Regions from separate parts of the Homo sapiens genome. Here all the other regions are linked to region 5. Evidence: promoter capture Hi-C in 16 types of primary human blood cells and fetal thymus (Javierre and others, 2016). All regions are on one chromosome and are shown on one strand. The core of a region is centred on a gene start or on the middle of the fragment in contact, and the rest is flanking DNA. Distances in the headings are between cores, read along the strand shown.

The links. Contacts are between HindIII fragments. The CHiCAGO score rates a contact against its expected background, and 5 or more counts as called.
Region 1: a contact is called between the fragment with the promoter of FANCF here and the fragment with the promoter of LIN7C in region 5, in 1 of 17 cell types (non-activated CD4 T cells). The highest score is 7.3, in non-activated CD4 T cells.
Region 2: a contact is called between a fragment that was not itself captured here and the fragment with the promoter of LIN7C in region 5, in 2 of 17 cell types (total B cells and naive CD4 T cells). The highest score is 6.2, in total B cells.
Region 3: a fragment that was not itself captured here is called in contact with the fragment with the promoter of LIN7C in region 5 in 1 of 17 cell types (activated CD4 T cells); the score reaches 5.6 in activated CD4 T cells.
Region 4: a contact is called between a fragment that was not itself captured here and the fragment with the promoter of LIN7C in region 5, in 4 of 17 cell types (naive CD8 T cells, non-activated CD4 T cells, total CD8 T cells and 1 more). The highest score is 13.6, in naive CD8 T cells.

The regions. Positions count from the first base shown.
Region 1 is chr11:22,623,136-22,628,375 of GRCh38, reverse strand. FANCF (FA complementation group F) reads left to right here and starts at 2,553. Exons shown (of 1, transcript NM_022725.4): 1 at 2,553-5,240. The coding sequence starts at 2,566. The coding sequence ends at 3,690. It also overlaps a transcript of GAS2 not described here. RefSeq lists enhancers at 2,574-2,763, 2,090-2,989, 2,854-3,063, 3,444-3,493, 3,504-3,663. The HindIII fragment of the contact is 15,033 bases long and covers 425-5,240 here.
Region 2 is chr11:31,511,850-31,516,884 of GRCh38, reverse strand. All of the region lies in intron 1 of ELP4 (elongator acetyltransferase complex subunit 4), which reads right to left. Among named protein-coding and RNA genes, the nearest start is that of ELP4, 4.6 kb to the right of the region's middle. The HindIII fragment of the contact is 930 bases long and covers 2,931-3,860 here.
Region 3 is chr11:31,364,779-31,370,382 of GRCh38, reverse strand. It overlaps DCDC1 (doublecortin domain containing 1), which reads left to right and starts at 644. Exons shown (of 39, transcript NM_001387274.1): 1 at 644-686. It overlaps DNAJC24 (DnaJ heat shock protein family (Hsp40) member C24), which reads right to left and starts at 523. Exons shown (of 5, transcript NM_181706.5): 1 at 471-523. RefSeq lists an enhancer at 231-710. The HindIII fragment of the contact is 1,237 bases long and covers 1,326-2,562 here.
Region 4 is chr11:22,821,068-22,826,420 of GRCh38, reverse strand. It overlaps SVIP (small VCP interacting protein), which reads left to right. Exons shown (of 4, transcript NM_148893.3): 4 at 3,288-5,353. The coding sequence ends at 3,302. Among named protein-coding and RNA genes, the nearest start is that of LINC02718, 5.7 kb to the left of the region's middle. The HindIII fragment of the contact is 1,142 bases long and covers 1,635-2,776 here.
Region 5 is chr11:27,505,100-27,510,771 of GRCh38, reverse strand. LIN7C (lin-7 cell polarity scaffold C) reads left to right here and starts at 4,003. Exons shown (of 5, transcript NM_018362.4): 1 at 4,003-4,056. The coding sequence starts at 4,020. BDNF-AS (BDNF antisense RNA) reads right to left here and starts at 3,920. Exons shown (of 7, transcript NR_033315.1): 1 at 3,874-3,920. RefSeq lists enhancers at 3,597-3,886, 3,957-4,086, 3,243-4,442. The HindIII fragment of the contact is 9,378 bases long and covers 1-5,672 here.

The sequences.
Region 1 (5,240 bases), core at 1,304-3,803, 4.9 Mb after region 5:
CTTGGATTTTCTTCTGTCCCATGATTGTTCAAACACTTTGAGGCCTAAATCAAGTATCAGTCCTCTGTAGTCTTCCCAGAACTCTCCTGTCAGTTTCTATCTAGTCTCTCATAGCAAAATTCTTAAAATTTTCAAAATATATAAAATCTGCTTTGCATTATAATTAAGTTTTTGTATCCCTCCCCACCCTGCCTCAAGAATATAGGTTGAAATGCTAGGCTTTTCTTTCTTTAGAGGGGGAAACTTCATAGACATTTTATTTAATGAAAATAGACTAATCTGAAATATGTAGGAGTTTATACGTTACTATGCTCAAGGAAGAATTTAAAATCAAGATTTAAACAGATAAGTAGAAAGGTATGAAGCTAAAGTTAATCTGCATAATTCTTGCCATACACTGTCATCCCCATTCTGAATCAAAGCTTTTTTGGATTTTTTCCACCTCCTTAAATAGGCCTGGTTCTTTCAACTCAGATACCTGCAAAAAAAATTAAGGATTCCTGTAGCCTTGAAGGCTCCTCTGAACACTCAGCTTTGAACTTTCAACTGAAAAGTTGGTTTCTTTTCCTTTTTTTTTCCATTTTCCTTTTTTTTTTTTTTTGAGATGGAGTCTTGCTGTGTCACCCAGGCAGGAGTGCAGTGGCCCGATCTCAGCTCACTGTAACCTTCACCTCCCGGGTTCAAGCTATTCTCCTGCCTTAACCTCCCGATTAGCTAGGATCACAGGTGTGCACCGCCATGCCCAGCTAATTTTTTTGTTTGTTTGTTTAGTAGAGACAGAGTTTTGCCATATTGGCCAGGCTGGTCTGGAACTCCTGACCCCAGGTAATCCACCCGCCTGGCCTCAGCCCCACAAAGTGCTGGGATTACAGGCATAAGCCACTGCCTCCGGCCTGAAAAGTCAGTAATTAAAGAGACCTTCCTATCCCCTAAGACTTGGTGACCCCACTCAATTTCATCCTACTATCACATTTGAGGTTATTCATTTAATGTCTCTCTTAAATGGTACAAGATGAACTTCTCCACTCATGCTAGGACTGCATTTATTTTACTACTAAATCTGTAGCACCTCATACTATGTATCATAATAGGTGTTAAATATAAGAATAAATAAATGAATTAGTGATGCCTGTACATTTGCTAAAGGCAGGCTGCACACTTGGTTCTAAGTTTGTAGTAGCCAAGAAAAAGAATTTTAAGATTCATAGTATCCTTAGGATAAAATAAAATAACGATTTCAGGACCAAGTAAGAGTTTGAGATAACTAATAAAAATCAAATAATAGCCGGGCGCGGTGGCACACGCCTCTAATCCCAGCACTTTGGGAGGCCGAGGCGGGAGGATCACTTGAGGTCAGAAGTTCGAGACCAGCCTGACCAATAAGGTGAAATCCCATCTCTACTAAAAATACAAAAATTGGCCGCGCCTGGGCGACAGAATGAGACTCCGTTTCAAAATAAATAAATAAATGCATAAATCTGAATTAACAGCATGCACATCACTGCTTTACTTTCTAAAAGGTGTAGGAATGCTTATTTTAATAAATGAAAAATGACTCTTCCCCTCTTTTAAATTTGTTTCTCTTCCCCTTTTTGTTAAAGTACAAAACAAAACACCTTCCCCCACTTTTCGAATAGTTTTGGCTGTGTCTTTAGGACTGGAAGGAAATTCAGCTCAAATGAATTACTATATTATGAACTTAAGTAAGAATTGTTGTGCATTTTGTACAGAATGCAACTCCTAGGAGTTGACAAATGTTTGTTAAGTGCATCAGTGAGCGACATAGGACCTTCTCCTCCCTACTCTCTTGTCACGGTTTTTATTTAATCAAACATTTATTATTGTTCGATGCTCTTAAATGCCATTTCCTTCAGCTGATTATTTGTATGACAGAAGAGTCAATTAAGCTATTTTGTCCTAAAAATTACGAAAACGAAATGTACAATTGTGAAGTAAAATTTTGTTCCTTTGCAAATTTTAATAAATTATTGAAGTTTATTTTTTGTTTCAAATAATCTGGGCTTCAGTTCTAATAATGGAAGGACAATGTGAAGGCCCAGAATTCAGCATAGCGCCTGGCATTAATAGGAGGTCAGTACATTTTTAGTACATGTTTCTCAAATAGATCTTAAAATTTCATTTAAGAGCGTTTCCTCACGTCACAGTATGTCTCTGGCGTTACTTAATTTTGAAAAACCTCAACACAGATTCTAGTTTTAGGCAAAGCTCAGAAAATTTCTACTTAAGGATATTTCCAAAGCGAAAGGAAGCGCGGAGACGTTCATGACTGGCATCATCTCGCACGTGGTTCCGGAAATTCTCGGTAGGATGCCCTACATCTGCTCTCCCTCCACTAAGAAGAACCTCTTTGTGTGGCGAAAGTAAAAGTATTAGGGCTTTTAAGTTGCCCAGAGTCAAGGAACACGGATAAAGACGCTGGGAGATTGACATGCATTTCGACCAATAGCATTGCAGAGAGGCGTATCATTTCGCGGATGTTCCAATCAGTACGCAGAGAGTCGCCGTCTCCAAGGTGAAAGCGGAAGTAGGGCCTTCGCGCACCTCATGGAATCCCTTCTGCAGCACCTGGATCGCTTTTCCGAGCTTCTGGCGGTCTCAAGCACTACCTACGTCAGCACCTGGGACCCCGCCACCGTGCGCCGGGCCTTGCAGTGGGCGCGCTACCTGCGCCACATCCATCGGCGCTTTGGTCGGCATGGCCCCATTCGCACGGCTCTGGAGCGGCGGCTGCACAACCAGTGGAGGCAAGAGGGCGGCTTTGGGCGGGGTCCAGTTCCGGGATTAGCGAACTTCCAGGCCCTCGGTCACTGTGACGTCCTGCTCTCTCTGCGCCTGCTGGAGAACCGGGCCCTCGGGGATGCAGCTCGTTACCACCTGGTGCAGCAACTCTTTCCCGGCCCGGGCGTCCGGGACGCCGATGAGGAGACACTCCAAGAGAGCCTGGCCCGCCTTGCCCGCCGGCGGTCTGCGGTGCACATGCTGCGCTTCAATGGCTATAGAGAGAACCCAAATCTCCAGGAGGACTCTCTGATGAAGACCCAGGCGGAGCTGCTGCTGGAGCGTCTGCAGGAGGTGGGGAAGGCCGAAGCGGAGCGTCCCGCCAGGTTTCTCAGCAGCCTGTGGGAGCGCTTGCCTCAGAACAACTTCCTGAAGGTGATAGCGGTGGCGCTGTTGCAGCCGCCTTTGTCTCGTCGGCCCCAAGAAGAGTTGGAACCCGGCATCCACAAATCACCTGGAGAGGGGAGCCAAGTGCTAGTCCACTGGCTTCTGGGGAATTCGGAAGTCTTTGCTGCCTTTTGTCGCGCCCTCCCAGCCGGGCTTTTGACTTTAGTGACTAGCCGCCACCCAGCGCTGTCTCCTGTCTATCTGGGTCTGCTAACAGACTGGGGTCAACGTTTGCACTATGACCTTCAGAAAGGCATTTGGGTTGGAACTGAGTCCCAAGATGTGCCCTGGGAGGAGTTGCACAATAGGTTTCAAAGCCTCTGTCAGGCCCCTCCACCTCTGAAAGATAAAGTTCTAACTGCCCTGGAGACCTGTAAAGCGCAGGATGGAGATTTTGAAGTACCTGGTCTTAGCATCTGGACAGACCTCTTATTAGCTCTTCGTAGTGGTGCATTTAGGAAAAGACAAGTTTTGGGTCTCAGCGCAGGCCTCAGTTCTGTATAGGCAATGCTGTGTTATTACTTGAATATAGAATATATAGTTTACAAAATGAAAATTACAATGTTCTCACCAAATATATGCCTTCGTGTGTCCAAAGTATAATTATTTTAGATGCTAATTTTGAATAGTTTATTAAACAGTTATAAATATGCAAAGTAGCTGGCATGTAGTGTCACGGATTTTCTGGATAGAGGAAGTGATTGGAAGTACTCCACTTAAAGCCATGGAATTAGCAATAGTTTGCTTTTTAATAGAAGGCCCATTTGTAAGAATGTTGAAAATATGTGTACCGTTTAAAGAAAAAGCAGCTTTAAAGTGACAAACAAAATACCCTTTTTCTTTTAGTATGGTTTATTTTTCTAGGTTTTCTGTCCCTCCCTCAGTAGTGAAGAGTTTTCTTTATTCCTGGCAGTGTCAGGAATATTGGTTTGAAAAGCTGTTGGCCTATCTGGAGTTTGGCCTTGTTAACCTAGTATTCTAACCAGTTAACCAGCCTTAGTATGCATTAAAATTGTATTGTTCAGAAAGTTTGTTTCTCATTTTCTGCAAATTCTTACTTTGAAAATGAATCACCACATAGTATGTCCCTTTAAAGCATTGACGCACAGACAAATGTTTAAAGCACAGTAAATACGAATATATGCCTTTGGATATTAAATTAATGCTTGATGATAAAAGAATCAAACTTTTTTTTTTTTGAGATGGAGTCTCGCTCTGTCACCCAGACTGGAGTGCAGTGGTGTGATCACTGCTCAGTGCAACCTCTGCCTCCCAGGATCAAGCAATTCTGACTCAGCCTCCCAAGTAGCTGGGATTACAGGCGCAGGCCACCATGCCCGGCTAATTTTTTGTATTTTTAGTAGAGACGGGGTTTCACCATGCTGGCCAGGCTGGTCTCAAACACCTGACCTTGTGATCCGTCCGCCTTGGCCTCCCAAAGTGCTGGGATTACAGGCGTGAGCCACCGCGCCTGGCCAAAACAACATTTTAAGTAGAAGATCCAGGTTTTAGTGCAGCTTCTGCCGTTAACTAGGTTAATAAATCACAACCTTGGGGCCACAGTTGCCTTATATGTAAATGAAGTGTTTAGAATAAAATAGTTAAATTTCCTTATTTTTCCCTTGGTGGCTGCCCTGTGGAAACAGTTTAGAATATTTGTTTTGTGTGTAGGAACCTAGTTGTGTTAGTTTACCTGGGTGTTCCACAGCTGATAGTGATTGCCTTGAATAAATTCAAGGGCAATTTATTCATTTTTACTAGGGAGATAGACCTTTACAGCAATCAAGATATTTTTGTCCATATCCAGGTTAGCTGGTAAGAGGATTTTTTTGGAGAAAAAAATGATATTTAGAAAGTTAATTTCTAATTCCGGAATGGAATAAAAACAATATGAGTAGTGTAATCTTGTAGAAAAAGAGTTGTATAATCTTGTAGAATTTCTCATTCTGTGGTACAACCCAGGGGTAAACTATTATTCCAGTAGTCAGTACACTTTTCTAGATAAATCTTGAGTGAAAACCAGCAATTTCTTTTTCCTTGTGGTCTGATTCCTT
Region 2 (5,035 bases), core at 2,146-4,645, 4.0 Mb before region 5:
TCGCAACAGACTACATAGGATAACTTTTATCTTCAGATGAAAAGATAAACATAAGCTGAAATGTACATCATGATAGCCATCAAAAAGGATCAGGTCCGGGTGCAGTGGCTCACGGCTATAATCCCAGCATTTTGGAAGGCCAAGGTGAGCAGATCACTTCAGCTCAAGAGTTTGAGACAAGCCTGGACAAAATGGCAAAACTCCATCTCTACAAAAAATACAAAAATTAGCAAGGCGTGCTGCCACCTGTAGTCCCAGCTACTTGGGGAGCTGTGGAAGGAGGATCAATTGAGCATGGGAAGTTATGGCTGCAGTGAGCAGCGTTCGCACCACTGCACTCCAGCCAGGGTAACAATGTGAGACCCAGTCTCAAACAAACAAATGGATCAGAACAAAGGGTTTGCTTTGGGATAAGATTAGACTAAATGTTTAATTTCATAGTGCCACACTAATGTTATAATTCATTTGAACATCTTATATCACACTTCCTTACTTTCCTACTTTCCCTTAAATGCAGAAATAAACATTTAATTACCCAATAGCCTTTTTCTGTACATATAAGGAGATGAATTGATATAAGCATACAAGAGACATTATGGTGTCTAAGCTAGAGCAGGCACTATTAAAAAGTTTCTTACTTTAACCTATTTCCTATAGGGAGGATTTAGGTTTCTTATCTAACCTCCTGAGTTACACTTACATCTCCTCAAATAAGGAATTTATATAAGGCCTCCACTGGGACAGACAGAGAAGCAAAGATTTTTTATTTTTTGAGACCGAGTCTTGCTATGTCCTCCAGGCTGGAGTGCAGTGGTGCAATCTCAGCTCACTGCAAGCTCCGCCTCCTGGTTTCACCCCCCATTCTCCTGCCTCTGCCTCCCAAGTAACTGGGACTACAGGCACCTCCCACTACACCCGGCAAATTTTTTTGTATTTTTAGTAGCGACGGGGTTTCACCGTGTTAGCCAGGATGGTCTCAATCTCCTGACCTCGTGATCCGCCCGCCTCGGCCTCCCAATGTGCTGGGATTACAGGCGTGAGCCACTGCGCCCAGCCAGAAGTAAAGATTTTTTAACATTCACTATGGGACAATGAGAACAGATCACATAACAGTTTTCCAATTACATGAAGTGATTACCAAGTAGAGGTATCTGGCCCAGAAAGGTACTCAGAAAGAGCTACCTTTACCATTTTGGCAATTCCTTTTTTTTGTGGGGGGTGGGGACAGGGTGTCGCTGTGTTGCTCAGACTGGAGTGCAGTGGTGCAATCATGGTTCACTGCAGCTCGAACCTCCCAGGCTCAAGGGTCCTCCCATCTCAGCCTCTGAAATAGTTGGGATTATAGGAACATGTAACCATGACTGGCTAATTCTTTTTCTTTTTTAATTCTTTGATTCTTTGTAGAGATGGGGTCTCACTATATTGCCCAGGCTGGTTTTGAACTCCTGGGCTCAAACTAGCCTCCAGCCTTGGCCTCCCAAAGTGTTGAGATTACAGGCATGAGTGACCACATAACCTAAAAAATCTTATGTGTATTAAAATTCTAATGTTTAGAAAATTTGAACATTAAGACATAATGGGGACATATTAAAATCATTTTTATCACCAAATATCTTCTCAAACTTCTTTTACAAAAAGGTAAGAAGGTTCTATCATGTAAATTCACTAGATTCACATTTAGATTGGCTGTAGTAAAGTTTGGTCACTGTGAAGGATAGTTGTGGGGAATAAGATGTAACTCATTAACTAATTTAAACTTATTAACTAAAGCTTTTAAAAATCAAGCTTTTACTCTATGTGTTTTAAGAGGAATAATTTGGACCTATACATATATATATATATATATATATACACACACACACACACACACACACACACACACATGCATACAGCAGCAAAATTTCTCTATTCTTCTAAACTTGAGTTTAGTGAGACATGATCTCAAAACATTTCCACAAGATACCTTTGTATAAGGTATTTTGATGTCTCTTACTTGATAAATGGAAGGTCTAGCTGTATTTTAACTTAAAAGTTTGAATGTTTGTAGCCATGCTCCAACCAAAAAATAAATAAATAAAAAGCTAAAACAACCAACCAATCACAACAGAGTATCCTGACATATTCTTTGAAGGCTGGCTTTTAATTTACTTTTAAATTTAGTAATCCATTAGTAATTTTATCTAATTCCAAAAGCAACATAGACCTCACACTAATAGTTACCAATTAAAACTGAAATATCTTTTCCCAATACAATGTATTACAGATAAGTAATAGGGTAAGCAAACAATCATCTTATTTTTATAATGAAAACAGGCAAGAAAGTAGTAAAACGGCCTTGTTTACTATTTCCTCTCCCCTTTCATCCTAACTTAGAAAAATTACCAACACACTTTCTAAGTCACTAAGCAAAATAAATTCTTCTTTTTTTGAGATGGGGTCTCACTGTCACCCAGGCTGGAGTATAGTGGTGTGATCACTGCTCACTGCAGACTTGAACTCCCCAGGCTCAGGGCTTCTCCCCCATCAGCCTCCTGAGTAGCTGGGACTACAGGTGTGCACCACCAAGCTTGGGTGATTTTTGTATTTTCTGAAGAGCCAGGGTCTCTCTATGTTGCCCAGGCTTGTCTCAAACTCCCAGGCTCAAGCAATCCACCCATCTTGGCTTCCCAAAGTGCTGGGATTATAAGTGTGAGCTACCACACCTGGCCAGCAAATAAACTCTTGTTTTTACTTCTAGATGTCTTTAAGATGTATACTTATTTCCATCTTACTAAAAATAAAAGTAGAGTACTTTATGTACACAAAAGAATACAAGAGGTTGAAAGGTTAAAGAATCATGACTACTCTTCAATAATTATGACACAATTATTGGCTGGGCAAACATGAGAATCAAAATAAAGGTTTGAAAGGTTAAAGATACTCAGCAAGCTTGATATTTTAGACAATTAATTTCATCAAGATTTCACATATTTTAAAAATAGGCATTTTTTCTTAAAACCAGAAAAGATATTTAATACTTAAGAAATAATATTAGAAAATTTAAGATCTTGCAAATGCCAGTATCTTCCACGATTTTCAAAATCATAAGACAACGAAAGGGCTTTTGTTGTTATTTCAATTCATGCAGTAGTAAGACAATTACATTAGTACTATTAATATTTTAAAGGAACAACATTCAATCCCCATACTCTCCCCAATAGAAACCTCTGACTAAGCTATACATTTTGGGTAAATGAGGTCAAATTAATACACTAGAATATGAAAGCCTTTCTTCAATGTTAGAGAAAGTAAAAGGGAAAAGAAATGAAAGTCAAGAAAGATAACAGTGATTTATGCCAGTCCTTTCCAGACCTCTATATAAAGGAATAATTTTGCTTAAAATTACAAAAAAGTATTTCTGGGAAAATGCAATGTAAAAAACAAGTTCATATTCTTTCCTTGGTTCATAGTAATAGCCTTAACTACTTAATTAATGCTGGATCTCAAATTTAATTGCAGTTATTTTGATAACAACTCTACTTTTTCTTCCCCAAGCATTATAAAACATAGTGACTACTCTTCATTATGACACAATTATTAGCTGGACAAACATGAGAATCAAAATAAAGCTAGGAACTGTGAATAGTTCTATAGATTAAGTCACATGAAATAATTTTACATAGCAATAAAAAATACATTTTTCTTAAATATACAGCTAATTATATTGGTTGGTAAAATATCATAACCAAGATTGTGTTAAATATGTAGTCCAAGCTCAATGTATATTATCCCATGCTACACATTAACATAATAAAGGAAATAAGCCCACTAGTGTTTACTTTTTGACATCAATGTTAAAAAATGGCTGTTACCATTAAGCTTCTTTCAGGGTACTCTTCCTAGACTATTATTTACCTCAAATCCCTATCTGACATTCCCTTCACTATCAAAATTTAACAGCACAGAGGTCAAATCTGCAGTTACCCTTCCTTTAAGCATTTTTCTGGAGGATGAAGTTGTGGTTAATTCTTCCAGGTTAGATATATGGTTCTATGATGGAGTATATACCTTTTACAGGGAATGGGGTTGGGTGGGCGGGGCGGGGGAGGGGGGGCGGAGGGCAGGGGGCATTTCTGCCAGAATTCTTTAGTTGCTATAATCTTTCTTTGGAAACCCCTGGAAGAGAAATGGAGTACCTCTTCAATCGATGGAATATCTATCTTTCCTTTTCCAAAATATAAGTGTTATTTACATACAGTGTCCTCAAATAACAATATAAATATCCCAGAAGGGCAAGGTTGAGAACATGGGTTAGATAATCTGGGAATTTAAACAATTTTAATGTAGCTAACTTGGGAAATGTATATCAATATCTCATAATACAATTAGGTTGTCAGAACAAAAACATTATATATTAGGTCATTTGAAAAATGCAGATATTGAAAATTTTCAAATTCATGAAATGCTTTGGAATAAGTAATGGAATTATCAGTGTATCATCAAATGACTAACAATTAGCATGTATGATGCCTTTCAAATATATTTTGCATCCATGTTTAAAATTACAATGACGTCACGGTGGCAGTAGTAAAATGTCACCGTACTACACGGAAGCTATAATATTTACTTGTTACACAGTAACCACATAATATATTCAGGCAATAATCACAATATTACAGTATAGTTTTACCGTTCTAACACCATAACATCCTATTATCATTACCTTTTGTCACAATATAGTCATATTAGGCTTGTCGCAACTTGAGTCAAATAACATTTTCAAGTAATAACATAGTCTAAACTGCTTATACAGAAAATCAGATACAAAAATGTCATTAAGAGGTTAAAACTAAAATACTTCTGGACATATTTATTTTTCAAGATGTAGTCAATTCTATTATAACCTCTTCAACTTTTGTGCACTTTGAGAATTCACTGCATACATGCAAAATATATTTCAAAGTATTCAACAACCAATACTGTTTCTACCATCTTAATGAACAGTAATTTTTAGCATAAGCTTGTTACACTTAAATACCCTACTCGAGTCTCCCAT
Region 3 (5,604 bases), core at 695-3,194, 3.9 Mb before region 5:
AAGCACCCACTAAACACGCTGGAGGAGCTTAATGAATATTTACAAAATGAACGAATAAAAAAAAAGCAAAACAGAACATCAAAGAATTAAAATAAATTTGGGGGCATTCCTTCTGAAAGTTTCTCGTTTGCTTTTCCTCCAGATTGTCTGGAGAGCATGATATGGGAAATAACGTCAGCACCAGCTGGTAGAGAACAAGAGTCCCCTGTTATTGGAGAGGCGCTGAGACCTCGCAAAGACAGAGTGAAACTCTCTACGCGAGGATGCCCCAGTCTTCCACGCTCCAGAAGAGAGACCCTACCAGGAGCCCCAGAAATCAGGCAACCTCTTCCCACAGCTATATACACTTAACGAAACAGCCGGGGCCTCCTCAAGCTCGGGACTTGGGAATCTTCTCCATTCACAGTCGGCTTTACCCACCCAGCCATTGGCGGGCACCCTCTCCGCGCTTTATACGACATCAGACCTACCTAACTTCACATAGGCGCTGCTACCCACTCCTCGCCTGCTGTCGGCCAGAACTCCGGACCGGCTTCTTCTTCCGCCGGAAGTCACTGTTCCGACGTGTTCGCGTTTCTGGCCGAGCTGATGTGGCCGTGGCACAGCTCAGAAGCGACGCTCCGCCCACCCCGACGCGGTCTCTATGGTAACCGGTCACCGCTTCTATGGAGTGGCGTTTACTACCAGTAAGTTCCCAAACTGTGAAGAAAGGCGCCTTTGGCTTCGCTCTAAGTCTCTCTTTTCCGGGCCCCGCGACTGTCGCTTCTCTCCTCCTCCTCAGCGAGCACCCCCTCGCCATCCCAGGCTTTCCCCGCCTTTTTCAAAGCTTCCTCCGTTTACCGTACCCTGAGCTACTCTCAATCTTTTCGGTTGGTGCTTGAACTCTGGGGTGAGAGAGGGGTGCGGGGGCAAGGATGTGAGAAGGATGAGGAGACCTGATGCCACTCTCGTCCCTACAGTTCCTTTACAATGTTCTAATTCGAAAATTAAAAGAACTAAAACCTATGCCAGGTAGGGCTAGATGTGCGGGGGATGGGGTCGGTTTAATTTTTTCTGCAGAAGATATTCGACGTAATTATTAATATTTCTTTTAGACCTTAGCAACCAACTTACAACATAAAAACGTTCCAAAATTCTTTCACATTTGCTATTTCACTTCGCTTTCATTTCAACCCAGTGAGACAAGTAAGGCAGGTGCCATTATTCCCACTTTATAGATGAGGAAAGAAATCAAGGATCAAGGCCAAACAGCTAGTTGGGTAGGGGCAGAACAAGGACTCAGCAAGTCTACACATTCCCAGGGCAGCTATGCTATCTTTCAAGCTTACAGAAAAAAGCAGAATGAACTGTTCTTCTTCGAAGCAGTTAGGGGGCACTGCATATGGGCACTGTTGGGGTTTGTTATTGTTGCTGGTGGTGGTGGTGGTGGTGGTGGTGGTGTTTTTCTCACCTTTCTTTCTTCTCCCTTTCTTGATTCCTGTGTTTCCTTTTATTACTTCTTTGTGCTGCTTACTTTACATTAACACCTCTTCCTAGCATTGTACCTGGAGATGAAAACTACATCTTATTTTTGGCCAGCATGACATAAATTTCACTTGGAGATGTTAAAATGGTTTTGTTGTTACTGCTTTGATTTTGCTTTCCTTCTTTTTTAAACTTCTACCAATCTGAGTTTGAGAAGCAGTCAAGATAAACTTAAGCAGAATAAATAAAATAATCTAATATGATCAGTTATTTAATGATGTTATGAACTATAAAGAATAACTGAATGAAACAAGCAAGTTTAAAAATCTAAAGATGAAAGCATAGATTAGGTTCTCCACAGGGTTTTGTCATGTTTAAAGGCAGATACAAAGAGCATCTGGTTTTAGTCCTGGCTGCATCATACTTTCTTGTGTGGCCTCATGAAAATACCTAAAGCAATGGAATTAAGTAGTGTGGTGAATGCTTTTCTAAACAGTACTGTCAGAATGATGCCACCTTGAACATCTCTAGCCCTCAAACTCCCTTCTGTCCACAGCTTGGTTCTTCCTTGTGTAGGTAGATATGCTCCGGTACTCCAGGTTTTTTGTTTTTTACAGCAAAAGCATTTTATTTTGATTTACTATTTATTAGGTTATTGTGTTACCTTATTTATTTATTGGGGTTTGGAAAGTAAGAAATAGTTTTTTTCCCCAGCAATACCAAATATTTTGTCATTTCATCTCTACATACTTTAGTTTGCATCCCTAAAATGTACCAACTTTTTCTTTTATCTCCATAATGTCATTATTGGACTGTCACATAATATCTAGACCTTACTTACATTTCCACGGTTAATTGAAAATGTCTTTTTCTGGTTGGTTTGCTTGACTCAGAATCAGACAAAATGTACACTTTCCATTTAGCTGTTCTGTCTCTTAAATATCTTTTAAATTATAGCAGTCCCATTTCTTCACTAGAACCTTGTTTTTTTCTTTACTTGCCATTGGCTTACTGAATGAGAACAGTTGTCTTACACTCTGCTTATACCAAAATAAACTTCTTAAAACAATTTTTACATAAATTTCTGATCATTAAGCTTCCTTCATTTTTCATTTTATAGAGCAGTACTTTCCAATAGAAATATAATGTAAGCCGTAAGTGCAAGCTACAAAATTAATTAATCTAAAAATTATTAAGGCGATACTTTACATTCTTTTCTCCTACTAAGTCTTCAAAAGCTGGTATGTATTGTGCCCGAACACACCTCAATTTGAACTAGCACATTTCAAATGCTCAGTAGCCACATGTGACTAGTGGCTACTGTATCCAGCAGGGCAGGTCTAGAGAATAAAGTCCTAACTCCTTAACCTAGCATTCAAGTTACCTCTTCAATATGATCCTTACTTTTCCAACCTCCCCTATTATCTCCATACATTAAACATTTAAACAATTGGATCTTTTCATGGTACTGAAATCAACCCAACAGTCCCATAGACAGGGTTTTGTTTGTTTGTTTAGTTTTGTTTATTGGGGTTTTTTAAATTAATAAACATAGAAATGGACACTTCTTTTCTGAAAGCTTGAAACTTGCATTTGTTTTATCTTTTTGTTTGCTTGTTTGAGACAGAGTCTTGCCCTGGTGTCCAGTCTGGAGTGCAGTGGCATGATCTCAGCTCACTGCAGCCTCTACCTCCCAGGCTCAAGTCATCTGCCCACCTCAGATTCCCAAGTAGTTGGGACCACAGGTGCATGCCACTATGCCTGGCTAATGTTTGTATTTTTTTTTGTAGAGATGGAGTTTCACCATGTTGGCCAGGCTGGTCTGGAACTCTTGAGCTCAAGCAATCTGCCTGCCTCAGCCTCCCAAAGTGCTGAGATTACAGGCATGCGCCACTGCGCCCAGCCACATTTTGTTGATCTTTATCTCAGTTCCTTCCTCAAGAAAGGATGCCCAGACCTCTCAACAAGTATCAAAGAGCTGAAACTCACCAGATTACTGCATCTAGACAGTGATATGCCAGACCCCTCATTCTTCGTTATTGTTTCCTTACCCTTCCTTAGTTCCTGTTTTCTCATACGTAGTTAACATTTCTTCCCTGTTATATAAACCCCTAATTTTAGTCAGTGAGGAAGGTGAATTTGACACTGATGTCCCATCTCCTTGGCTGCAGCATCTGATTAAAGCCTTCTTCTTTGACAATAATCATTGTCTCAGTGATTGACTTTTTGGGTGGTAAGCAGCAAGACATAGATGGAACTCCTGGTGTTTTGGTAACAGCATTTCATCAATAATTGTGTTCAAATGCTTCTCCTTACTTATAACACCCTAATTCTTTTCTTCCTCCTATCAGAGTAATCCCTGCTTTAAGGCCTATCTCTTCCATCAAGCCTTTTATGATGGCCTGGTCCTTAGAACTTACTGCCGCCCCTCAACTTTCATAGCAAGTCCTTTGTATATCACAGTATATTGTTTTCCTTAGAATATATTCTGATTCCCCAGTTGGGTTGCAAGCTTTCTGAGAGCAAGAACACCTCTCCAGAGAAACTAAGAACCAGCTATCTTGCCTCATTCTCTGGAGTTCTAATGATACATAGCTCTAATAGTTTTGTTTCTCAGTATCTTATATTTAAAAGGCAATTTATCCATTTTATGTGAAACTTACATAGTGGAAATATAAACTATGTTAGTATCATGGTTAAAAGCATGAACTCTAGAGTCAGAACATATGTGTTTAGTCCAGGCTTTTCCTCTTACGGCTATGTGAACTTAATTCATCTCTTTGCTTTGGTTTCTTCCTCTGTAATATGGGAGTAATAATAGTATTTCCCTCATAGATTTGTTGTGGGAATTAAATGAGATAGTTGTGCCTGAAAGTAATAAGTATTCAGTAAAGGTTAGCTATTGTTGTTATTATTAATTAATAATATTTGTTGCACATTTGATATATTAGAATGTTGGACATTCATAACAGTATTTTAGGAATTTCCAAAGAGAGCAAATGACAGCAAGAAACAATTGAATTGGAAAAATAAAATCAAACCCAAATATTTGTTGAACTGTACATTTGGTTGGACTTCAGAATAAATTAAAAGGATAGGCAAAACTTTAGTTTGCGTCATCAGCATCTAACATAACCAAGGTAGGCGTATATTAAATATTTGATTCCCAGATGATTGATCAAGTGCTATAGATGTAGCTAGATACATCAGGAGTTTAAGATCCTTTGTCATGATGATAGGAAAAAATGACATTGTTATTAAATCTATCACTTTGGTACACGCCTGCCCGTAAACTAACGTCTACCAGACATTCACAAATTCTTAATTTGATGTCATACTAGTCAATTGTGCTTCTCATTGATGGATAATAATGGAAATCTATATCTATATTATATAGATGTATACATATAGTGTACTTCTGCTAATTATTTCCTATTCAGGATTATATTTACTTGGCTCTTTTGGTAGTTCCATCACCAACTATTCCTTCATTTCCTTGATTTTTATTTCTGAATTTTAGGATTTTTATACCAGTGAACTAAGCTGTATTTAAGTACCATGGGATATGATGGTTATGTTCCAAAATTGAATGATTGTCTCTAGAGCAACTTATAATCTACTGGGAAGATAGAAAAACCACCAAAAACTAGCTAGTTATTTGATTTTTAAAAGTCAATGATATATATACAGCCTTCATTCACCTATTGACTCAATCGACAAATATTTGTTGAGTGTCTCTTATGTACCCCACACTCCGTTAGTTACAAGAGACACAAAACAAAGTTGACTGTAGTCCTGTCAAAAGCTTAGTTTATCTGGGTAAACAGACATTTAAAAAGGAACTGAAATAACTGTAGGAAGTACTATGCCAGAGGAAATACCAGGTGCTGTGACATTAATTAATAACTTGCAGGTATACTAATACGTAGAATAGATTACTTGAATGATTAAAATCCTTGAATCAAGATGAAGCTAATCCAGGAAGATGTATGAAATGTTAAGTTTTAAATAGTGTTTTGAAGGAAGGGAGAGGTGAATGACTAGGATGAAAGAAACTTCCTTTCTTCTTTTTTTTTTTTTTGACAGATTAACATAAAGCTTTAGATAGTATTGAGAATCAGCTCTAATGAATAATCCTAG
Region 4 (5,353 bases), core at 956-3,455, 4.7 Mb after region 5:
GATTTATGAGTACCTTTCAACAGATTTATTGGTTTTTTTTCTCTCAAAACTACACACACACACACATGCACATACATATACATGGACATATACACATACACTTGCCTACATGTAGATACTCTCGTAACTTGTGGGGCAGGCAGTTTATGAACACCCTGAGCAGTTGATTCTGGCTCAAGAATATCACAGAAATAAGAATGTGTGTCTGTGTATTTTACTATTGTACGTTACTTCATCTTATATCATTTAACGAATGAAAATTTATGAAGTTTTTTTATGGTGAACTTTTAGCAATATATAATTAGTTTCAATATAAGGTAAATAAGTCTGACCATTTTGCTTATGTTTTTTATAATTCCATAATAGAACAGAATAGGTCTAGTGTAAAGTAAAACAGTTGGGTGATAACGAGGTCAATTCTTTATCATATCTCAATATTCTGTTGAGATAAAGTGCTGTTTCACTAGGTTTACTTCATATAGGGTTGTCAAAAACAAACACAAAATTACAAAAGTTAAATTGTAGGACTGGAAATAATGAGATCCACTATTTCACAGTAGAAGTGGTGAAGGTATTAAGTTAAAGTCATACGTAATGTTATAGGAAAAGGATAATTTAATCAACACTTAATCATAATTAAGAAGACACTTCACAAGTTCTAACCTAATGAAATTAACATCAGCTTTTAAAGTATAATAAAGAAAGAGGCTTTCTTAAACTTGAAGCTTCCACACTCTGAAGTCTATAGATTAAAAAAAAAATTTAGGCCTTATATTACTTACAATCCATTCAAAAGTGCTCAAAATGTAAAACATACCCAAAGTTAAATTTAGTTTCTGTTTTTCTTTGTGTACTGTTCTTGTAAGAAATCTCTCAAACTCACTTAGTAAAAATGACCTTCAGGACCTTGAAACTATATAGTGGCAGGAGGATTTTCTCCAGTGGCTCACTGTCATTAGCCACTGCTGTTGTCCACTGTGAGTAATTTTTCCTTGGAATATTCCTCATCACCTACCACTACCACACTAGCTTCAAGTGGCATGCTCCATTCTGCTTGACACATGCACAACATGTCAAGAGCATGAAGTGAAAAAATTCTGGAAGGCTCAGGGATAACAGAAGGGAAAAATACAAGGCAGAAGTACTTAACCCTCAAAACGCTTGGCCTATGGTCCTTTAATGGCTGCTGTCTGGCTTGTTTCATGGGCTGGCCTGAAGTATTGGTAGAGTCTTCCTAAGGTAGGAAGGTTAGGAAGACTCTTCCCTAGGTAGAGTCTTTCTGACCTGACTCTACCTAGAGTATGAGTCTAGTTTGCATTCCCTGTCTTCATGCCTTTCACCTATTCATCTCCTGACCAGTGCTGCATCTTTCCAGGGTAATTAGCATGGGTAATGCTGTCTTCTGACTTCTTACCTGAAGAAGTCAATGTGATGATGGCATCAGGATGCAAAGTACTATCAGTACAGGATATAGCAGCACGGGAGTAAGGGTAGACCTCTAGTACAATGGCTTTCCACCTTAGCTGCATGTTGGAGTTTCATAGGCAGCTTTCAAAAAGGATTGTTCATTGGGCTCCACCTCACACCAGTCAGTCTCTGAGAGTAGGGTTTAGCCATCAGGACTGTTTTAAGCTTCCCAAGGTAATCTAATGTGAACCCAGATTGAGAATCACTATCCTAGCGTTTATAACACTTGTCCTAAGAGAGATGTTTTGGAAGATAGAGTCCCATGGGAATAAATGTTTAAAAATGCTAAATTGTATATTGTAGACTATATCCCCTTCTTAGAGACTAAAAAAGGCACAGAATTATGGCCTCTAAGAAATTGTACAATGAAGAAAAGCAAGTTTACTTGGATTAATCTTTAATGTTGAAAATTTATTTAAACATAGATTTTATATATATATGTGTGTATATATATACGTATATATATACATATATATATACGTATATATATGTGTATATATATATATATGTGTGTGTGTATATATATATATAAAACACCCAATAATATTCCTTGGATGTACTTGGAAAACACTATCAAGAGATTGCCAAATATCTCTGGTTCTATCCTAATGGCTCTTCAGGACCTATCACAGATTTAATAGACTTCATTAAACAAAGGGGCAAATGGAATATTTTCTTAACTCAAGAAGGAAAAGACCTTGCCAAACCATTTTTTAATGGTTTCTGCCATTTCTTGACTCCCTGGCTCAAACAAGAATTTTTAAATTTTTGTTTTGTTGTGTTTTATTTTGTGTTCCTTTACTGATTATTGGATATTTAGGCTCTTGCTACTGAATAGCAGGTTCACTGTGCAGTGGTTACCAACTTCAGAGTCCAGTGGACAGAATACTCATGCATGTAACATTTGCATGAAGAGGCTGAGCACAGTCACTCACACGTGTAATCTCAGCTGTGAGAGGAAGGCTTTGGGAGGCTGAGAAGATGGGATGATCACTTGAGGTCAGGAGTTAAGAGACCAGCCTGGGCAACATAGCGAGACCCTGTCTCTACAAAAATAAAAAATAAATTAGGTGTGGTGGCATGTGCCTGTGGTCCTAGCTTTTCGGGAGGCTGAGGTGGGAGAATGACTTGAGCCTGCGAGGTTAAGGCTGCAGTGAGCCATTCCCACCTCACCCCAGCCTGGGCGATAGAGTGAGACCCTGTCTCAAGAAAATCCCAAAACAAAACCAAAAACATTTAACGTGGAGTGAGTTTATTACTTACAGATTGGCAACAAGGGACAACAGAAGCCTAGGATTCATTATAAGCTTGTCTCCCAAGGAAAACTGCCTGGGGTTGATGACATCTGTGTGTGCCCCACTTGAACCTCAGATGAGTGCCCTGGGTTTTATGACCTGGGGGTTAGAAGGGGAGGTACTACATGACTCCTTGGGCTAAAGCATTGAAGGACGTCCTGTCTTTAGGGAGGGACTGGAACAGAACTTGAGCTGTCCTTGGCCATTCATTTGCTATCCCAGGATGTTACATTCCCAGCACATTCTACAGTTACTCTTGAAAACTACAGGCAAGACAGTGAGACAGAGCTATCCTGCAACTACCCACCAATCTGACCAGATATTTTGTCTTCTTTATGCTTTTAAACTATCATCTTATTTCAGGCTTTGGACTATAATGTAAAATTTTATGAATAGCTGCTATTCAGAAAAATCATTTTGTATTTCTATGTCCCATATTCCTCTTTTTACCTGTTTGTTCACTGAAGTACTGTTATATAACTTCAAGTAAAATTTACTTTTCTGTCTCTTTTTTATCTTTTCTAGTGGACAGTTTCATAAAGCATAACATGAGTAGAAGAATCTACTGCCAATAACTGTTTATTATCTGCAATCAAGTGGGCTTCATCAATTTAATTTCTTCTCTTTGAGTAAATGAAGATTCAGACTTTGTAATATTATTGCCCTTAAGTGCAATGCTAAAAAAACGTTGATTTTCAAGCTTAGAGAATGGCTAGACTTTTCATTAAATACTGATTTTCCTACATTTGCTCTTCTGCAGTTAGTGGGTGATTTGCTATTTTTCTTAGTAGTTAAAAAATGGAACTAAATAGTGAATATACATACACTGCATGTAAACATTCTGCATATACCTCTAAGATTAAAATTCGCAGTTGTCTTTTCATCCTTTATAAAATGATCTAACTACTTATATTTGTGCTGCATCGCGTTACATCTGTTTTTATTTCACTATGAAGATGTTTGATTAAACTTATGGACTTAGTGCCTTTAAACTGATCATCAGGGAGAATCTTGAAAAAATCATTTGAAGGGCTGATGTGAAGGAGCACTGTAAATTTTTATAACTTAGTAATGAGTATTCTTAGGCAGATGTAAAATTTTTTCCAATTTATTTTTATTTATGTAGCTTATAAAATTAACATACCCTGTTTTACTTTATGATAAAGGATTTTTTGTTTGCTGAATTTAAAATTATATATTAGTGATACCATCAGAGGGCAGTGATGTTCTATTGTATATTAAATTCAGCTCTGTAAGGATCTTTGTAGTAATTGAATGAGTTAAACTAATAATCTGGATGGGTTATAATGAGTAGTAATATATTTGTCCATATTTCATAAGTAGTGTTAATCTTGTGTACTTATTAGAGAACGATCATAAGATTTATACAGATGTGAAACTGCGAAGGCAAGTATGAATGTATGAAAAAAACATGTAGGTACTGTACTTACAAAAGGTCTACTTCAGATATAAAAATATTAGGTAATTCTATACAATGCATAGTCATAAACCTTAACATTTTTGTTCATTAGAAACATGAATTTTATAGCATTTTTTGTTTCTCCTATATAATACACTGAAATAAAAGAATTTGTGTTAGCTATTAAGGCTGATAGCTCTTTTAAATGGCAAGGCCACATGTTGAGCCCTAAATTAAAATTTGCAGATATTAAGTGCTAATAGAAATTTTAAGTTAAATCGACCAAGTTCACTTGCTTTACACAAAGGAAACTGAGCCACTATCTTCATCTACCCCTCCAACAAAAATTATGTTATACTGCAGTGTATTGTACATGTTAATTTTTAAAAGTTTGAACTATTATATAATACAGGTCTCTTGACTTCTCATGGAAAAATTATTTTTTCTATTATGGTGTGAAATATTGTGTGAATATCTAGGCAAAACATAACAATTTGGCTCAATTTTCTTCTTTAGAGGATTCGTGCTGTTTTTGTTCATAAAGGGTAGTGAAATCATTGAACTATATTTTAGAATGAAAATTTTTGATTTTATTAAAATGATTTTTTCAAGGCAGAAAGTAAAAGGAATGATTGATAGCGGAGTGCATATAGAGCTAGAGCATATCATCCTTGAACTCTGCAAATCCTTTCTTCCATTTTAATATAGCAAGAACAATTTTGTCTTTACTACATCTTAAAGAATTAGAACTTGGGTTGGTGTAAGTGACTTACTTCCAGGGAATCATGCCCTATTTCTACCAGCAGGTCATACCCAAATGTCACACTATCTATTGTTAACCATGAATGATATTCAGATCTATTACTTTTCGTGAAAAGTGGAACATGTTACTTCCAACCATGGCCTGTCACCGTGAGTGTGATCAGCTTTCTCCAAAACCACATGGGTCGCAGGAGCTAAGGGGTGGTACCCAAATGTTAGGAACAGTGTTAGGAAAGGGCAAGGGAAAAGAAGTGACTGGATGTCTTATGAGAAACCGGTAAATGACTAAAAAAAAAAGCAAATGACTAAAAACATGACTAAAAAATTATATATATATATAATATATATATTATATATGTGTGTATATATATACACATAATATCTGCAAATTCTAATTTATATATGTGTG
Region 5 (5,672 bases), core at 2,754-5,253:
TGATTCTCCTGCCTCAGCCTCCCGAGGGGCTGGGATTACCACCCCTGGCTAATTTTTGTATTTTTAGTAGAGATGGAGTTTCGCAATGTTGGCCAGGCTGGGTTCAAACTCCTGACCTCAAGTGATAAACATGTCTCAGCCTCCCGAAGTGCTGGGATTACAGGCATGAGCCACCAGCCCTGGCCAGCTAACTTTTTTTCTTAAAGATGGGATCTCACTCTGTCACCCAGGCTGGAGTGCAGTGGCACAATCATAGCTCACTGCAGCCTCAAACTCCTGGGCTCAAGTGATTCTCCCACCTCAGCCTTCTGAGTTGTTTGAACTACAGGTATGAGCTACTGTACTTGGCTTGGCTCACTTCCTACTATTGATGGAGCACATTTTCTAGTAGCTCTTGAGAAAGTATGTATGGAAGGTTAACAATTTTTAGAACTTACATGTGTAAAATATTTTTCATTATTCCTTCACACCTGATTGATACTCTGGTTGGTGTTACGGGGTGAACTGTATCTCTTCCCTTCAAAAAAAAAATTAAAGTTCTAACTCCCAGAACCCCAAAATGTGACTTTATATGGAAATGAGGTCACTGATGATGCAACTAATTTAGGGTAAGGTCACACCGAAATAGGAAGTTCTTGTAAGATGATTTCCAGCTGACAACAGATAACACAAGGGAAGACGCCATGTGATAATGACAACAGAGATTGAAGTAATACAGTTGCAGACCAAGGAACACCAAAGCCTGCCAGCAAACTACCAGAAAGCTAGGAAGAGACAAGGAAGGAATCCTCTACACTTTCAGAGAGCACATGACATCTTGGCTTCTGATTTCTCGCCTCCAGAAGTGTGAGACAGTGACTATCTATTGTTTTAAGTCACCCAGTTTGTTGTATCTTGTTATGGCAGCCCTAGAAACCTAATACAGTTGGATATAGAATTCTAGTTTGCAAATAATTTTTTCTAAAAATTTAGTTGCTCTCTGTGTCTTAGCTTCCAGTGCTGCTGAGGAGAAGTACAATCTTGTTCTGATTTCCAATCCTTAGAATATAATTTTTTATCCTCTCTGGAAACTTCTAGGATCTTCTATCTATTCCTAGGATTCTGAAATTTTATGATGATTACATGTGTTAAACATCCACCCGGGTGTGGCGGCTCACGCCTGTAATCCAGCACTTTGGGAAATCAAGGTGGGTGAATCACTTGAGGACAAGAGTTTGAGGCCAGCTAGCCAAACATGGTGAAATCCCATCTCTACGAAAAATACAAAAATTAGCAGGGTGCGGTGGCAGGTGCCTGTAAACCTAGCTACTCGGGTGGCTGACGCATGAGAATCACTTGAACCCAGGAGGCAGAGGCTGCAGTGAGCCGAGACTGCGTCACTGCATTCCAGCCTGGGTGACAGAGCAAGACTCCATCTGAAGAAGAAGAAGAAAGAAGAAGAAGAAGGAGAAGGAAGAAAGAAGAAGAAATAAATTACCAGACAGGGAAAGGAAAAGAGCAAAAAAAAAGTCCACAAACTCAGTTCCTAAGAATAGTTCCCGTTCCTACCAAAGTAGAAAAACCACATAATTCACTTTGGGTATGGGGTAAGGAACTTTGAAGGGTACTGTCTTAGTAGTGGGATACAATTAACCCTACATAAATGACTGAATTGGTTCCACCTAAAAAAAATCAAAACCCAAAAGAACAAAATTGTTTTTCAAGTAAGTAAATTTTACAAAGTCTAGCATCTTGTTAAAAAAAAAAAAATTTCCAGGCATGCAAGAAGCAGGAAATTATGAACTGTAATGAAGAGAAAAATCAATCAATAGAAACTATGCCAGAAATAGCATAGATCATAGAATTAGTAGACAAGGATATTAAAACTGTCATTATAATTGTAGTCTATGTGTTTAAGAAGCTGCAGAAAAGTTGAGCATGTTAAGACATAAAAGATGTAAGACACACACCCACACCCAAATCAAACTGGTAGAGGCAACAACTACAATGTTTTATATGAAGAATGAACTGGACAGGATTTCAATATTAGATATTGAAAAAAGATTAATGAATATGAAAACATAGCAATTATCCAAAAGGAAACATAAAGAAAATCTTGAAAAAAAAATGAACAGAGCGTCACTGAGCTGTGAGACAATGCCAGTTAGTTCAATATACATGTATATTATGTACATGCACATGACTCCAATAGTCACACCAAAGGAGAGGAGCAAGAGAATGGAAAGAAAAAATATTTGAAGAAATAAGGGCAATGTTTGCATTTGTCTTGCTCTACCTGGTATTCCTATCAAGGCACCTGGTATATATTAGGTGTTTAATAAACATTTCTTGAACACATTTGCAGCAAAAAAAAATGACAACGAGTAAGAGATAAGCACCTGAGTGTTACTGCAACGTATTTAGGCCATCAGAGGACAAAAAAGGGGAATAATATGGAGAAAAGGCTTGGTAGAAGTGGCATGCCTTCAGCAGGGACCCACGAAATGGGTTCAACTGAGTGTGTACAAAGTTTGGAGACTAGGAAGGGATGAAGAAGGGCATTCCACACAAGAACAACACAAATGAAGATTTGGAGCCTGGCACAGTGGCCCACGCCTGTAATCCCAGCACTTCGGGAGGCCAAAGCAGGAGGACTGCTTGAGCTCAGGAGTTTGAGACCAGCCTGGGCAACATAGCAAGACCCCCATCTCTACTAAAAATTTAAAAATTTGCCAGGCATGGTGGTGCTTGCCTGTAGTCCTCGCTACTGGCAAGACTGAGACAGGAGGCTCTCTTGAGCTGTGATTGCACCACTGCACTCCAGTCTGGACAACAGAGAGAAACTCTGTCTCTAAAACAAACAAAAAGACTTGGAATCAGGAATAAATATGGTTGAAACTATACTATCTGGACTGAAGTGGTGGTTGCACTTAGTGGTAATGAGAAATGAAGTTAGTTGGATGAGTTAGGGTCAGAGTATGCAAGGCTTTAGAAATAGGAAACAGGAGAGAAACCATTGAAAGTTTCTGAACAGAACTTGTGATGATGAAATCAGAATTCAAGGGGAGAAAAAGGAGCATAGTGGTGGCATCCATGATGGATTTGGAGAAGAAAATACTAAAGGTGAATGGAAAGGGTGGACCAGGGGCAAACAGGTTATTAAAACAGTCCCATCATGAAGTGTTGAAATGCTGGATGTAAACACACCTACCACAGTATCAGTACAGACTAAGGGCTTGGATAAATGTTAGTCAAATCCAAGTACTAAAATTCTTCTTGGTTCGCGAAAATTTCAGAAGTGGCTCAAAAATCTGTAATGCATTAAGAATATTATTTGCTTCACAATATTTCATTTACTTAAGATTTTATAAGAATCAGCTGCTTATAAAATTGTTACTTTGTGGTGCACCAAAGCACCTTGTTCTCTCCCTCACCCAGATATGTTTCATGCTCTTTGTACTTTCCACCCCTTAACAGATTTGGAGGGAAGATTCAAGCCGTGGATTTTTAAATTTAAAGCAATGCTGTCACAAATTGAGAACTGACAACATGTCATTACACATTTAATTGCCACCGAATCCCAGAGTTTAAAAATTGTAAGGACCTAAGAGATAGGACCTCTCGTTGTACAGATGCGGAAACTGAGGCTGAGAGAGGGTAAGTGAACAGTCCCAGGTCACAGAGCTGCTAATGGGCAAGGTGGGACTAGAATCCAGGCTTGACTCCTCTACGCTGAGCCAAGGGTTCGAAGCGATTGGGATAAGGGAAGCCTGAGGCAGGGAACGAGAGTCAGGAAAGCAGCTCTTCCCAACCCTAGGAGGCCGGGGGACCTCGTCACCGCGGAAGGAGCGGAGCCAGGCCGACCTAAAAAGCCGCAAGTCCAGGTACCCTTACCCTGATGGCCGCGGCGACACACTCGGCCACCTTCCTGATCTCGCGATACTAGCCGGTACTCACTTTTCCGGCTTCCCCTAGGCCCCGCCCCCCCACCTCAGCCCTTCTGTCGTCATTTCCTGTGGGTCTGTAGGTTAAGGGAGAAGATGGCGGCGCTAGGGGAACCCGTGCGGCTGGAGAGAGGTGAGTGCAGCCGAGGCTCGGCGGAGGTGGGCGGAAGGGTTGGGGGAGTGCTGTGTCGCTGGAGGGGAGGAGGAGTGACCCAGGCTCTGAGATCCGGGCCACGCTGTCCCTTGTGCCGGCGCCAGAGGCCGCCGTTGTCTCTGTGCCTGGCTCTAGGAAGGGCGCTTACGGTATTTTGTCTGTTAACCGTAAGCCCTCCTCTGTTCACACGGACTGTTCCAAGGCACAGCACAACTAAACACAACCTGCCCGCTTCGCAGACACACGCCGCACACGCGCTCCCTTGGTGAGCACAGCAGAAGCAGCATTCGGAGACCCGTACACCCGAAAAGCAAACGTCACACACCCGGTTCGCACAGACTACACTCATTGCCTGTACAGCACGAGAACGGACACACGGTACAATTCAACAGAACCTCCTTTCCCCGCTGTTTGCACACAAACTCCTTCATTACTTTCTCCACAACCTCGCTTGTATTCGGGTTGGGGTATTTGCTAGCTTTTGTGCCCCTCCTAGAAATGGAGAGGTTGCTTTAAAAACAATCCTACTGACTTGGTCTTGGGAAGGAGGTTACGTAAGTAAGCCGAATAGTGGTAGATGCTAAAACACTTGCAGGTGCAGTGTTTTTCATTTCTTACAAACCCTACAATTGCAAACTGGTTGGCTGATTGCTTCCTAGAGCAGACTGTCAAGGAAAATAAAACCACCTCTGCTGAGTAATTAGAGATAGAGAAGCCTACGAAAATAACTGGCTATGCGCCTACCATGATTTCCAGCATTCCAGCGTTTCCAGTCCTTTTACAGATTTCCAGCATTCCACTCTGTCCCTAAGTCCTTTATTTCAAACAATTTCAAGCATGCTTTTCATACACCAGCATTAGAAATCATTGATAGGAATTGAGAAGTACAAATAAACATTTTGAGTACTGGTGGTAAAAAAAAATGTATATGTAGGATGGAGACTGAAATTATATTGCACATATTAACATTTGCAATTAGTCTAAATATTACTATTGTTCCCTAAGAAAACACATTTTTAGAATTACTGTACTTAGAAAAACCTCTTTCCTAATGCCTTCCCACAAACAAATGTGCACTTAATGTTGCTGATTTGCTCTTTACCGTGTTCACCATTTGGAAGCCTCACTGTAAATGAGATTGTTTCCGTTAAGCCTATTAAAGCATCATTTTAGAGGACTAGCTACTCTGGGAAGACTTGCCGAGTTAGGCCTAAGTCTCTGACATCTTCCTCTTGAGCACAGTGGCACTGTGTTTTATAGATGGGAGCAAATCTGTTTGGTGTTAACAGGAGTAAGTTTTTTCTTTGAAAGCTAGTTAAGATTCTAACGTATTGGTCTTTTGTGTTTTTGTTGTTGCTGTTTGGAGACGTAGTCTTGCTCTGTCGCCCAGGCTGGAGTGCAGTGGCGCGATCTCGGCTCACTGCAACCTCTGCCTCCCGGGTTCAAGCAATTCTCCTGCCTCAGCCTCCCGAGTAGCTGGGACTGCAGGCGAACGCCGCCAAACCCGGCTGTTTTTTGTATTTTAGTAGAGACGGGGTTTCACCGTGTTGCCCAGGCTGGTCTCGAACTCTTGAGCTTAGGAAGTCCGCCCGCCT